5 separate regions of the Homo sapiens genome follow, and regions 1, 2, 3 and 5 are each linked to region 4. Evidence: promoter capture Hi-C in 16 types of primary human blood cells and fetal thymus (Javierre and others, 2016). All regions are on one chromosome and are shown on one strand. The core of a region is centred on a gene start or on the middle of the fragment in contact, and the rest is flanking DNA. Distances in the headings are between cores, read along the strand shown.

Region 1 (2,700 bases), core at 84-2,583, 530 kb after region 4:
GGCTTTGCCCTCAGGGTTGAGATGGCCTACGTTCTGGACCCAAACCAGAAGCTTGCAATGACTGGGTTTTCAGTTCTATCTGTTTGTTAGATGTCTTGGAGGCTGCTGGGATTCTCTGCACAGTGCTGGCCTGGAAGGAGGTACTGGCACACCACTCACCCAAAATGCCCGTCAGCTCAGATGACTTCCTGTCTCTGGCTTCAGATGGCAAAGTCAAAGAAGTGAAATGTATCAAATTCCGGGCTACTTGCTCATTCCCAATTTTTTGATGCTCAACAAATGTTATGAATAGTTAATCATTTGCTCCTAGCAAGTAAAGTCCTCCTCAGGAATGAATTGGCCATGTTGAAGAGGCACTGACTCTTTCAGACTCCTAGTGAACGAGATACCTTGGCAGTCAGGCCTCGTGCCATGCAGTCAGGCTCACTGAGAGATATCAAGGGTGTGTTGAGAGTCAAACCGGGGAGTATCTGAGGTGCAGACAGAGTTGAAATCCCACTGAGCTGATTCAAGGGGCCCTCAGTATTCACCCGGGAGACTGACCTTAATAAATTTTACTTAAACCTGTTGAAAAGAAGGAAAATGCATCCATCTGAAAATGATAAAATCTCATGGCTGGACAAGACTACGGTCACGTGTTTCAAGCTTCTTTCTGACGTGTACACACAGGGTGGTTATGCAGCATCCCCTTCCCGGGGCGCTCACTGCTTCCCCCTTGCAGAGCTGGGACCGTTCATGTGCACAGCAGTCCAGTGCCCCTTTCTCGTATCTGTAGCCTTTCAACTCTCTTAACCAAGACATCCATGCCCTCCCCTGCTTCCCCTGTGTCTCGAGCATGGTCCCGGGTGCCCACAAGGTCCCACTGCTCTCCTGTCAGAGCCCCCCATCTGCTCATGCTCCCTTTAAATAGAGGTGCCCCTCACAGAGCCCAGCCAAGCTCCACGGGTGGTCCCACAGAGCCAGAGCAAGACGATCACTCACTCCCTCTAAACACTGCACTTTTATTAACACGGCCACAGCTCGTATTCTTGGCAGCCACAATACACCAGTGCTGAATATTAACTTTATTCTCAACCAAACTTTAACCCGTTTTACTCCTGCTCCCGCTAAATCTCAGGGCCACACCTCAGACGTCTGCAGTTCGTTTTCTGAACCCAAGAGCTGGGCCTTTTGTTTGCCAGGTATTTTAATTTAAAAGTAGACAGCTGAGCCACAAATCAAACTGAGGCACACTCACCCACATCCTTGTAAAGTTGCCCCAGAACCAACAACAACAACAAAATCCAACAGGAGAACGAGAACTGTCAAGTTGAAATGCAGCCCAGACCACATTTCATTTAGACAAGCACTGCCCTATTAATTTTAGTCAATTATTAATTCCAGCCTTTTGGTATCTGGGCAGCCTGGAAGAACAAAGGCATCTGTTGAAGCGACTGCTTGGGTGACAATGATAACGGGACCATTCTTTTTTCCAGCTCTGTGGAGCACAACGGGGGGGCGGGATAAGTGTAGGGGCCACGGCACACACGGTGGGGGCTCACAGACAGAGGCCAAGTACATCTGTGATCTCCTCACACCACCCAATGCATCTGTAAGCTCCCTGCCAGTGAGGGCACCCCCCACCCCCACCACAGATTCCACCAGCCAAGAGTGTCCGCACCGGCACTGGCTTCTCTCGCCGCAAGAAGTACTGAGCTTCCTTCTTTTCCCTCTTGATTTTGAGAGTCTCTACACCGCCATGGTAGGAAGTGAGAAGGAAACGGGGGAAGGCACGTGAGGAAGACAGGCGCAAATAGAAGGCCTGCACTTCTTTTAAACTATAGACTGGACTGTGACCATTCAGACCTTCTGTAGGAAAGCATGCTTATGAAAGAGCCCATGCCGACGGACCTCCTGGCTTGGGAGAGGGAATCAACTCTCCCCTTCCAACATGCACTGGCGTACGTGGGCTGACCCAGGACATCCAAGACACTGGCCAGGAATCAGACACCCTGAGCACAGTAAGAAAAATAGGAAGCTTGGGACCATGAGCCATCCACAGCTTTCACTAAGGCGAACCAAGCTGCAGCCTTCCCCGAGCGCTGGCAACACTGGTTTCCATTCCCCATTGGGTGAACCTGAGTTTGTGCCTGCTCACTGGGGCTTACGAATTGATCATCAAAGACTGTTCTTCCCAGTCATCCTCACTTCTCTTCCTCTGTTCAAACATCATTCTAAATTGCCAGCCCACAGGTCCTCCTTTGGCCTCCCTTCTTTTGCATGGCTTTCGGTTACAAGAAAAACCGAGCATGGTTAGAAGTGTGGTTTGAGCTTTTTTCCCAAACATTTCCACGACTTTGCTGTTGTTGTGACTCTGATGTGGGGGCTCTGCTGGCCAGAGACACCCCCTCCGCTTACACAGAGCTGGCAGATGGAAACAGTATCAGGACATCTCCATTACACAACAGGCTTTCACAGGGCGATGGTTCACATTTTACTGCAGTTTCCTTTGGAAATGCTCAAAGCAACTACATCCGTTTCCTTTCATTGGGACTTTTATGTTTTTCCAGCCAAAAAAGGAGAGGATAAAGTTCATTAAGTCAGAATAGTAATAATGACGAGGTCCACATAAATTTTGTTGTGTTTGGTGCTTTTAAATATTGAAGGATTCACCACCCTCTTCCACTCCCTCTTTCTTAGTTAGGGAGTGAAGATGATGAG
Region 2 (2,700 bases), core at 194-2,693, 510 kb after region 4:
CACCATGTTGCCCAGACAGGTGTTGAACTCCTGGACTTAAGCAATCTACCTGCCTTGGCCTCCCAAAGTGCTGGAATTACAGGTGTGAGCCACCGTGTCCATCCCTGTGGTATAGGAACATCAATAAATAAAAATAAACATCCAAAATATGACTCAATGAAGTATCCAGGAGTATCTAAGTTATTTTATTCACTAAAGAAACAACCTATTTTTTAGTGAATTAATTCACTTTCCAATGTCTTTGGATTTAGGCATTTGTGTGGCCACTAACCACATCCTCCCCCAGCGTAAGTGTCCCAGGGGTCCCACACGGGCGGAAGCACAGATGCCCACCTGCAGTCACAGTGCCCTCCTCGCTAAAGCTGTTGTCTTCTGAATACGAGATCCTGAAATGCTGTTGACAGAGAGACTTTTCCAGGAGGTGGGCCAACATGAGCTGGAGTTTTACCTGGGTGTGATGGGAGAGGTGAACAGCTGCCTGGCCCTCTGCTGACTCTGTGTCCTCATTGTGGCCTGTCATTGTAGAGTAACACGGACGAGGTGGAGGGTCAGGGAGCCATGCCAGGACTCTCAGAAGATAAGGCGGAGCAAGGAGAATGGCACGGTGTCTGGGAGTCATCAGAGCCAAGTCATAGGGTAGTCTAGTGGCCATTTGTCCCTTTGGTTCTGTGCTATCCATATGGCCCTCAATGCCCAGATAACGACAGTCCAGCCCCCACTCCACACTTACATGCAGGGAACCCCATCCTTCACCAAGTTCCCTCCAAAAGGGCTCTGGGACGCCCATAGAAGATCTGCAGAGCCCGTGGGTCCAGGCTGCTGTCATTGGTCTCCTCGGCTGGCTGCCTCATCACAAGGAGGACGTGCACCCCACTGCCTGCTATCACAGCGGTTTCCCCAGGCTCTGTCCCTGTTCCTGTATCCTTTCCTGCTACCATGGACACAAGCCCCTCCCTCGATTTTCCCAGCACTAAGATCGGGCTGTAACTTCTACAAAAATATATTGAGGACTTGTGGATAACAGGGGGAATGACAAAAAAGAGGAGAAAAGAAATATATTAAAAATGAATGCCAGATACAGCTGCAAACAGTGTCCATAGGGTCCCCAGCCCTCCAGTATCTCAGCTTGCATGGCAGTTACAGTCCAGCTATCATCCGATATATCCTGGACTGGTTGTTTCCAGCTGCCCCTTTCACCCAATGAGTTTCCCAATTAGAAAGACGAATTGTGTGATTTACCCACCACCACTCTTTCAGAATGCTTTTATTATTTAAAAAAAAATTTTTTGAGACAGGGTCTCATTTGCTCTGTCTCCCAGGCTGGAGTGAAGTGGCACAATCATAGCTCACTGTAGCTTCGAACTCCTGGGCTCAAGCAATCCTCTCACCTCAGCCTCCCAAAATGCTCGGATTACAGGCATGTGACACTGCGACCCGCCTCTGAGTGCTTTTATAATGGTGCCTCTACCAGTGTCCAGGGCCTCTCCCTCTCCAAAAATCAGCAAGGGGGAGAAAAGATACCTTATCTAAACCAGCTCTGCATGATGATCTGCAGAATGCAATTATGTCAGTCCATGCTATCAGACTAGTAAGTTCAAGTTTCTTATTTTAAGAACTGGATCATAAATGCACTTCTTTCTTCCCTTCATACGGCTCTAAAATATCTGATCATATTTAAATCAGAATTACAATTCACCACTCGTGGAGCAGAGGTCCAAGCCTTTCATCCAAAATCCCAAGCTAGGAGCCAAGAGAGCCCATCCCGCAAGGTCTGTTCCCCAACAATGGGCAAGAAAGAAAGGAGGCACCCAGGACCTTCCCTCCAGAGTCCAGGCCATTGAGATACCAGCTGACCAGGGCACTGCACCACTCCATGAGCCCCATCACCGCCCTGGTCAAGAGGGCAGGGACCCTTGACCGAGGTGCATGGGAGCCAAAAGTGTGTGTAGGGCAGTAAATATCACCTGGCTCTGGCCCAGATCCAACAGGGCTTAGCTTGGCCATAGGCAAGAACTGAACAGAACATAAGGAAAGGGTTCTTCACCTCCATGTGACTGTGGCTGCTCCCCGATGTACTGTAGGATGCAACCAAAGGCCCTTTGAAGTCTTTTCCCCCAAAGAAGTAATTGGAAAGAATAACCCAAACTTCCACCTAGAAAAACAGAAGAGCTGTTGGCAGTTTAAACATAACAGTCCCAGGTGTCCTCAGATTCTAGCCATCACATTTTCCACAATGCTGGGGCTCTGTCTCAGAGTCCCTGTACGCTCAGCTCCTCTCAGAGCTCATCCTTTTGGGACGGGTACTGTGGCTTACCATTCCAGGAAGGAGATAGGCCCATCGAGGCACCAATGTTGGCTGTGCACTCATCTTGAAAACAGCAACAAGCACCTGGAACACAATTGCTTTGACTTCATCCAGAGCCTCTGGAATCAGGAAAAGTAGACTTGGTTCTCTGGACTCATGGCTGATTTATCATATGGCTGTAGGTGTGTGGCTCTGTGGCTCAGTGTCTCCATCTGCTACCTCCTTCTTCAGATCCTTAAAATTAAAGGGAGGCCTAAAAGGCACTTGACATTGAGTTGTGTTGTTTTTGTGTGGATAACCCCATGAAAGAATAATCCATTAACAGAGGCATCTCCTACTGTCCCTTCATGTAGTAATCCACCCACTCACCCTCAGCAAAAGTGTGGCACTGCCTT
Region 3 (2,700 bases), core at 120-2,619, 550 kb after region 4:
TGTCCTTTGCACGGACATGGATGAAACTGGAAACCATCATTCTCAGCAAACTATCACAAGGACAGAAAACCAAACACTGCATGTTCTCACTCATAGGTGGGAATTGAACAATGAGATCACTTGGACACAGGGCGGGGAACATCACACACCGGGGCCTGTTAGGGTTGGAGGGGTGGGGGAGGAATAGCATTAGGAGAAAAAGCTAATGTAAATGACGAGTTGATGGGTGCAGCAAACCAACATGGCCTACATATACCTATGTATCAAACCTGCATGTTGTGCACCTGTACCCTAGAACTTAAAGTATAATAAAACAAAAGAATATAAAATCATTATAGGCCTCAAATTACTTCACCATTTTTCATAAACAATGTCTGGCATTAAAATTAAAATAGTGATGCATACTAGAAAATAAGAAAACACCAAGAAAATCAACAAAATGGAAATGGACTCTATGTATTCCAGATAATTGAGATATAAGGCACAGAATTTAAAATAGCTGTCCTCATGTGCAAGTAGATAAAAAATAAAGTTTTAAGTTTTGTCAAGAACTGGAAACTATTTTTGAAAGAAAAGTCTAGAAATAAGAAAATGTAGCAATCAAAATTAAGATCTTACTGTATAGGTTTAACCACAAATTAGACATAGCTGAAGAGAAAAATGGTAAAATAGAAGCCTGACCAGAAGAAAATGTCCAGGAGTGAAGTCAAAAAGACAAATGAAGAATAATACAAAAAAGAGGGTAAGATACATAGGAGACACAATGAGAAGGTCTAATGTGTAAAAAATTGAAGACCCATTAAGGGATAAAATTATTTAGGTAAAAGCTGTATTATAAGAAATAATGGTGGAAATTTTTCCAAAACTAATTAAAAATATCAAGCCTCAAAATCCAGAAGACTTTCCAATCCCAAGCCAAATAAACATAAAAACAAAACAAATCAAAAAAGTCCCACACCTCCTTTGTATTAAAACTGCTGAAAACCAAAGACAAAGAGGCCATCTTTTAAAAGCCTGAGAATAATAGACAAATTCCTTAAAGGAGCAACAAATAAACTGACAGCTGACTATTCATAGAAACAGTGGAGCCCAAAGACAATGGAATGATATCTTTAAAGGGCTGAAAAAAAATAACTGAAAACCTAGAATTGTGTGCCCAACAAAATATCCTTCAAGAATGAAGGTGAAGTAATAACATTTCCAGATAAAATTTCTTTTAAAGAAAAGGCTGTGCCAACCACAGTTTAGGAAGCACAAGACTGCTCAAGGTTTTTCCAAGAACATCCTGTGGTGGGCAATAGGCTCTGCTAGTGGGCAGTCAGGGTTTCCAACTATCCATCCACCTGGAGTTCGAGGTAGAATGAAAACCTTTGGTCATCGTGAGGGGTGGGAGGAGTGACAGAAGAGGCCTCGAGACAGAGAGCCTGGGCTTCCTGCAAACATGGGCATGTGGCAGCTGAAGCATTTTAGTAAGAAAAATACAAGAAGTGTAATTATATTTATATTGGTGAAATGTCAAATATAAATTAGGAGTACTGAAAATTTGATCATGAGTCACTTGAATAAATTAGGGCTATTATTTTTCTCTCATGCCACATGAAATCCAGACAATTAGTATTAGTCCAGCAGCTCAAAAGTGTCAGGGCTGAGAATTCTGTAATTTTCTCAGTCTTTAGTTCACGGTTTTAAGAATAAACTTGAAGACATAAAGCCAATCAAATTCACCTTTCAATCTGGAGAAGAGGAAAGTAACACAAGGAGAAAGTAGTAGATGCCAAAATAGGAAAGTACAACTTCCCAGAAATTTCCAGCAGTCTTTCACTTCTGATTGTTCAGAAGAGTATCACATGACCTTCCCCCAACTACAAAGGATGCCAAGAAATGTAATTTTTTAGTAGGGCACAGTGCTACCCCAAACAAAAGCAGGGTTCCATCCGTGAAGAAGGAAAGAAGAATGGATCTTGGGTAAGGCAAGAGCAGTAGTGCTACCGCTCCAGGAAGGCCTATGACACATGAAATACCCTATTCCAACTTTGCATGTACAAATCCATTGTAATGTCTGCTTGGACTTCCAGAATACCTCTGTGCTGAGCAGTAAAAGTCTTAAAAATCACATTTTACTCTGGAATAAGCTGTATGGTGGTTTTGGTTGGTTTGTTTATTCTTGACAGATGACTCCATACTGAATTTGTGGAACATGGTTTCAACATCACAAGATTGTTTTATTCTTTATAGTCAATAAAAAGTGTTCTCTTAGAAGTCAAATAGCTTCATTAGAAAATGGTATGTTAAGAAATAAACATAAAACTATTTCCCAAAGACATAAAATCAGATTTTTTAATTGAAAGTGCCCTGAGGCCTCATTCCTTCCCACTGGGGAAAGTCCAGGACAACTACCTAATGATGCTAATGAACTCCACCTAGCCCCTCTCTCCCACACACACAACCTAATGAGAAGCAGACATTCCCAATGCTGCACCCCTCCAACTCCACCTCCAAGTTTGTTCTCCCTTCTAATGTAGACAGCTTCTGGCAGAATGAGCCGCTTTTGGAGAATGGTAGTAATTTCCATCTTCCTGGTAGATCATGCCAAAGGGAGACACCGTCCTTCTCCTCCCAGATGCTGGCCTTAGGACCAGATTTCCTTACCTGGAAACTTAACAGCCTCTGTCCACCTGCAGCCTGCCAAGGTGTTGTAGT
Region 4 (2,700 bases), core at 8-2,507:
TTATTGTGAAGATCTCAGCTTATGAAATTATGTATGTGAAGCACCCACCACAGAGCACAATGCTGACTTTTTCTTTTCTTTTTTTTTTTTTTTTTTGAGACGGAGTCTCGCTCTGTGGCCCAGGCTGGAGTGCAGTGGCGCGATCTCGGCTCACTGCAAGCTCTGCCTTCCGGGTTCAGGCCATTCTCCTGCCTCAGGCTCCCGAGTAGCTGGGACTACAGGCGCCCGCCACCACGCCCGGCTAATTTTTTGTATTTTTAGTAGAGACGGTTTTCACCGTGTTAGCCAGGATGGTCTGGATCTTCTGACCTTGTGATCCGCCCGCCTCGGCCTCCCAAAGTGCTGGGATTGCAGACGTGAGCCACCGCGCCCGGCCCACAATGCTGACTTTCTATTAACTGTAACTGCCAGATAAAAATGCACTGGAGTAATGAAACGGGGGGAAGAGGCTGCCAAAAGGATGAATTAAGGATTATCAGTTCAGTCCCACAAACATTTGCAGGGTGCCTACTACGTACTGTACCAGAGGTGGCAGGACATACACATCAAAGGACGAACGAAGCACAGTCCCTGCCCACAGGGACAGTAAAATGCCAGATGACAAAGGTTCACCGAGGAGTTTTTGGGGTAAACCTATGGTCCCCTCCACACAGGGGGCTCTTCTAGGGCGGTGGTTCTCAACAGAGCGATGTTGTTCCCCAGATGACATTTTGGGTTGCCACAAATGGGGAAGAGATGCGACCGGCACCCAGCAGGTAGAGGCCAAGGATGCTGCTAACGAGCCTCCGATGCACAGACAGCCCCCACCACAATCTTCAGGAGCAGAGCGCCCAAGTAGAGAAGCCCTCGCCCCGCAGCACTGCGCCGAGTCCCCGCCCACACCGGCTCTGGGGAGCGGACTTCCGGCGGGGTGGACCCACGGCGCTTCCCGAGGCGCCGCAGAGCTGACCCCGACCCCGGGAGTGTGACCCAGAGGACACCGAGCCCCGGCAGCCCTGCGGGCACCAGCGCGCCGAGGCCCCTCAGCCCTGAGCCCTCCCTCCCGCCCCCCCCGGGTGCTAAGGCCGCGCCAGTGAGAGACGGACCCGGCGTCTACACACAGGCCCCCGGAAGGTTCTCACTCACTATTTCTCTGCTTTGGCGAGGTGTTCCAGCCCCTCGTTTATCTTCTGAGCCGCCATCTCCACAGTCAGGTCTCTGACGTGGAGAGAGGGTGACCCTGCCTCTTCCTCCGGCGCCAAGAATCCGCCCAAATAGGCGTGGGAACGCCGAGGAGGAAGCTGGTGCAGCGCGACAGTCGAGCGGCTACGGAGGGCCGGAGGGCCCAAGCCGCTGCGACGAAGCGGGGCTGGGAGCCTGCCGGTGCGCCCCGCAAAGAGACATTGCGCAGGCGCAGCGCGTCAAGGCTGGCCCCACCTAGGGCATCTAGCGCAGGCGCGGTGAGATACTGATGGGGCGTATTCTTTCATTCAATATTTGCAAAGCACCTAATATGTGTCAGGCACTATTTTAGATGCGGGAAGATCAGCAGACAAAAACTCCCGCCCTCTTGAAGTCTTGCTTTTTCATTAATGTGAAACTGCTGTGGATCCTGTTTGTAGGGTTAATTGGCTTTATAATTTATTACATCTGAAGTTTCTCTGTATGACAGATAGAATAGTATTCTTCTATCCATTCTGCCTTTTGGGTATTAATTGTATGTCAGTCAAGAAACGAAACAGACTTGTAAACCCTGATTACTGTCAAATAATCCGCGCCCAACCCAAATAATCGCTCTAATATTTCAAGCCGTGATAAGTGCTCTAAATGGGAAGTTGAGGGATCTAAAGTCGCGTACAGTGGTCTGGTAAAAATAGTAACCAGTAATACAGTTGGCTTCATTCATAATTCATGGTGATTTCAATATCCACATGGATGATTCCTGCAATGACTATACAGCCTCTCAGCTTCCAACCTCCTGTGATCTTTCCCACACTAGCGCAGCCACACATTCCTGGGATCACACCCTTGACCTTACTCATAACTGTGTACCCTCCGTAGTGTCAGTTTCAAACAGCTCACTTTACTTCCCCTTTCCATTCCAGCTCATACCTCCTAGTGCTAGTAATTACTTAACCTTCACCAGATTCCTCACCTTTCCCTATCCCTCTGCTCTTACACGTCCTTCTTTTCCCAGCATAAATTCATGTCCCATCATTTTAGTGCGTATACTCTCAACGGCCTTGGCTCCCTCTCCCTCCTTTCTCCAAGCCAGGAAAAACCCCAGCTCTCCACCTACTCTGGAACTGCTCTTGAGCAAGTGAATTTGACTGGAAAAAAACAAACGAGGATGCTAACATTACTCATTTTAATGATCATAAACATTAAGCCGACCTTTGGTGCTGCTGAGCAACTCTCCTATGTTTCCATGGTCAAATCACTCACCCACTCACTTGGAGGGCTGTTCACACCTTCCTTCTCAAAACTCCTACACAATCTCTGCTTGCCTGCCAACTCTCACTTATTGTTGAATATGAAATAACTATTCGAAGAGTTCTTCCCTTTGGCCTCACCACACAATCGATCGATCTTCCTGCATCTATTTGCCAATCAATATTTTGCATTTTTTCTAGTGCCAACAGGTGAACTGGCCTTGGATTTTTTTCTCTATCCTCACTTTCTTATTTAGTACCCACACACAAGACCCCTCTTCATTTGGTT
Region 5 (2,700 bases), core at 17-2,516, 910 kb after region 4:
AATCTCCTGACCTCGTGATCCGCCCACCTCAGCCTCCCAAAGTGCTGGGATTACAGGCGTGAGCCACCGCGCCCGGCCTAGGCTAAACTTTTTTAAATATAGGACTTTGAAAGCTTTAAAAAATAGGTAAACATAAACTGTTTGGGGGTATTATCTCTAAATTTTTGGAGATTTTAGTTTTTTCTTTATACTTTTCTGGGCACTCCAAAAACATGTATTTTTGTAATTGGAAAATTCAGAAAAGAATAAATGTTACAAAGATGTAGAATTCCGGCCGGCCATGGTGGTTCACACCTGTAATCCCAGCTCTTTGGGAGGCCAAAGTGGGAGGATTGCTTGAACCCAGCAGTTCAAGACTAGCCTGGGCAACAAAGTGAGACCGCATCTCAAAAAAAAAAAAATATGTAGAATTCCACCCCTCCCAACACCTGCCACATACCTACAAGCAGCAGCAACAACAAAACCTCCTAAAAAACCAAGAACATCGTTTGAGGGAGAAGTGAGTTGGCACCTGAGTTCAAGATTGTCTACCTGGATGATTTGTCCGAATAATGAAATGGTGGCAAACTGCAGCCATTCAAGCCAAGGGCAGCTGGTGAGAGGACACTGTTAAGGCACTTGCTTGGGAATTTCACAGAATTGTGATGAACAAAATATTATATGAGAAAGATAATTTTTGTATACTTGGCCAGAATAATTGAAACAGGCTAGTTAAAAAGTTATTAGTATGGTTTTGAAGTGGTTAATATCTTGGTCAGGATATTGAGTGAGAAACGGAGTGAAGAGGTGACTCCTAAAATGTTTCAATGACAAAATCCTCAGGGAACAGTGATAACTTAGATGGAATTAGAGATTATACCAAGACCATACATGTTGAAAGACTAGAAGTTCTCTTAATGCGAAAGAAGTTGACGAAGGACCATTTTGACAGAAAAGCTATGAATGTGAGGATACGCAAACGCTATTGCCATTATTTAGAATCAGGATTCCAGTGTTTGAATACTAATTCCCCTATTTGCTTGCTTGCTTGCTTTCTTTCTTTTCTTTTTTTTTTTTTTTTTTGAGACAGTCTCACTCTGTCACCCAGGCCAGAGTGCAGTGGTGTGATCTCGGCTCACTGCAAACTCCACCTCCTGGGTTCAAGAGATTCTAATGCCTCAGCCTCCCGAGTAGCTGGGATTACAGGCATGTGCCACCACACCCAGCTAACTTTTGTATTTTTAGTAGAGACAGGGTTTCACCATGTTGGCCAGGCTGGTCTCGAACCCCTGGCCTCAAATGATCCACCCACCTCGGCCTCCCAAAGTGCTGGGATTACAGGTGTGAGCCACTGTGCCAGGTCATTTGCTTTTTGATCTTTGTCAAAATACCCAACCTTTCTGAGCTTCGATTTCCTTTATTTTTAAAATGGTAATATCAATTTCTACTTCACAGGGCTGTTTTAAATAATCAGAAAGCACATAAAAGTGCTTAACAGGCTGGACGCGGTGGCTCACACCTGTAATCCCACCACTTTGGGGGGCCGAGGCAGGTGGATCACTTGAGGTCAGGAGTTTGAGACCAGCCTGGCCAACATGGTGAAACCCCGTCTGTACAAAAAAAAAAAAAAAATATATATATATATATACAAAAATTAGCTGAGTATGGTGGTGGGCGCCTGTAGTCCCAGCTACTCAGGAGGCTGAGACAGGAGAATCGCTTGTACCCGGGAGGCGGAGGTTGCAGCAAGCTGAGATTGCAGCAAGCTGAGATTGTGCAACTGCACTCCAGCCTGGGTGATGGAGCGAGATTCCATCTCAGAAAAAAAAAAAAAAAAGAAAAAAAGAAAAAAAAAGAAAAAGCGCTTAACATGATGCCTGGCACACGCTCTGAAAAATGTTTCATATATACGGTAATATTACCATTGGGGGAACTGATGTGAAAGTGACATAGGACATCCTGGCACATCATTTGAAACTTCATGTAAATCTGTAATTGTTTCTAAATAAAAAGTTAGAAAATGTATTAGCTATCTAGTCTGGGAATTATATTGTGTCATTGTGCTAATATTTTTCCCACCAAAGGAAGGAACCAAGGACCAGAGACACAAGCAATTTGTTACAAACAGTTACAGAGAAGTGAAATGAGAATGGAAGTAATTTCTTCTGAATCATATTACCATAGAGCAGCCTTAGTGTGAAGGGAGCTTAGAGTCAGGGCAGTTAACCACTGAACTTATCTGGGTTTGAATATGTGGTTTGCTATGGTTTATTTCCTGGTTCAACTTGACTCATCCATTCAGATTCAGAATAATAAACATTTAAACATTTAAAATAATAAGCATCTAAAATGATAAGCATTTCCTCCACACGTACTCTGTGCCAGGCATTGTGGAAGCCTCTCCCATATTGCTTTGAATGGGATTGCAACTAAAGCTTTCTAAATTCTAAGAGAAAGGCACAAAGGAAATTTACTACTGCCACTCTAATCCATTTAGTGCTCACTGTTTAAACATCTTTGTTTTCTCTTAATGAAATTAAAATGTGTGGAACAAATTGTGTAGGATGTAGTACCTCATCAGTGGGGAATTCTTTTGCCTCTACTAACCTGGAGCACTGGGAAAAGCACGGGAGTAGGGAACATAGTGGATAAGAAAAAGAGGGTTTATTTTCCTTTATACTCAGTTTACAGTAGTGATTCCAGCAGGATGCACTATTTTGT

Evidence for each region. Contacts are between HindIII fragments. The CHiCAGO score rates a contact against its expected background, and 5 or more counts as called.
Region 1: a contact is called between a fragment that was not itself captured here and the fragment with the promoter of NAPG in region 4, in 6 of 17 cell types (fetal thymus, naive B cells, endothelial precursors and 3 more). The highest score is 10.5, in fetal thymus.
Region 2: a fragment that was not itself captured here is called in contact with the fragment with the promoter of NAPG in region 4 in 3 of 17 cell types (endothelial precursors, naive B cells and M0 macrophages); the score reaches 6.8 in endothelial precursors.
Region 3: a contact is called between a fragment that was not itself captured here and the fragment with the promoter of NAPG in region 4, in 16 of 17 cell types (fetal thymus, total B cells, naive B cells and 13 more). The highest score is 25.7, in fetal thymus.
Region 5: a fragment that was not itself captured here is called in contact with the fragment with the promoter of NAPG in region 4 in 4 of 17 cell types (monocytes, non-activated CD4 T cells, total CD8 T cells and 1 more); the score reaches 7.3 in monocytes.

The regions. Positions count from the first base shown.
Region 1 is chr18:9,992,604-9,995,303 of GRCh38, reverse strand. No RefSeq gene overlaps it. Among named protein-coding and RNA genes, the nearest start is that of VAPA, 80 kb to the right of the region's middle. The HindIII fragment of the contact is 1,372 bases long and covers 648-2,019 here.
Region 2 is chr18:10,011,966-10,014,665 of GRCh38, reverse strand. No RefSeq gene overlaps it. Among named protein-coding and RNA genes, the nearest start is that of VAPA, 99 kb to the right of the region's middle. The HindIII fragment of the contact is 6,892 bases long and covers 1-2,700 here.
Region 3 is chr18:9,974,208-9,976,907 of GRCh38, reverse strand. No RefSeq gene overlaps it. Among named protein-coding and RNA genes, the nearest start is that of VAPA, 62 kb to the right of the region's middle. The HindIII fragment of the contact is 6,845 bases long and covers 1-2,700 here.
Region 4 is chr18:10,524,584-10,527,283 of GRCh38, reverse strand. NAPG (NSF attachment protein gamma) reads right to left here and starts at 1,257. Exons shown (of 12, transcript NM_003826.3): 1 at 1,126-1,257. The coding sequence starts at 1,181. RefSeq lists a silencer at 865-1,114. The HindIII fragment of the contact is 5,497 bases long and covers 1-2,700 here.
Region 5 is chr18:9,619,290-9,621,989 of GRCh38, reverse strand. PPP4R1-AS1 (PPP4R1 antisense RNA 1) reads right to left here. Exons shown (of 3, transcript NR_110773.1): 3 at 2,627-2,700. Among named protein-coding and RNA genes, the nearest start is that of PPP4R1-AS1, 5.8 kb to the right of the region's middle. The HindIII fragment of the contact is 2,301 bases long and covers 116-2,416 here.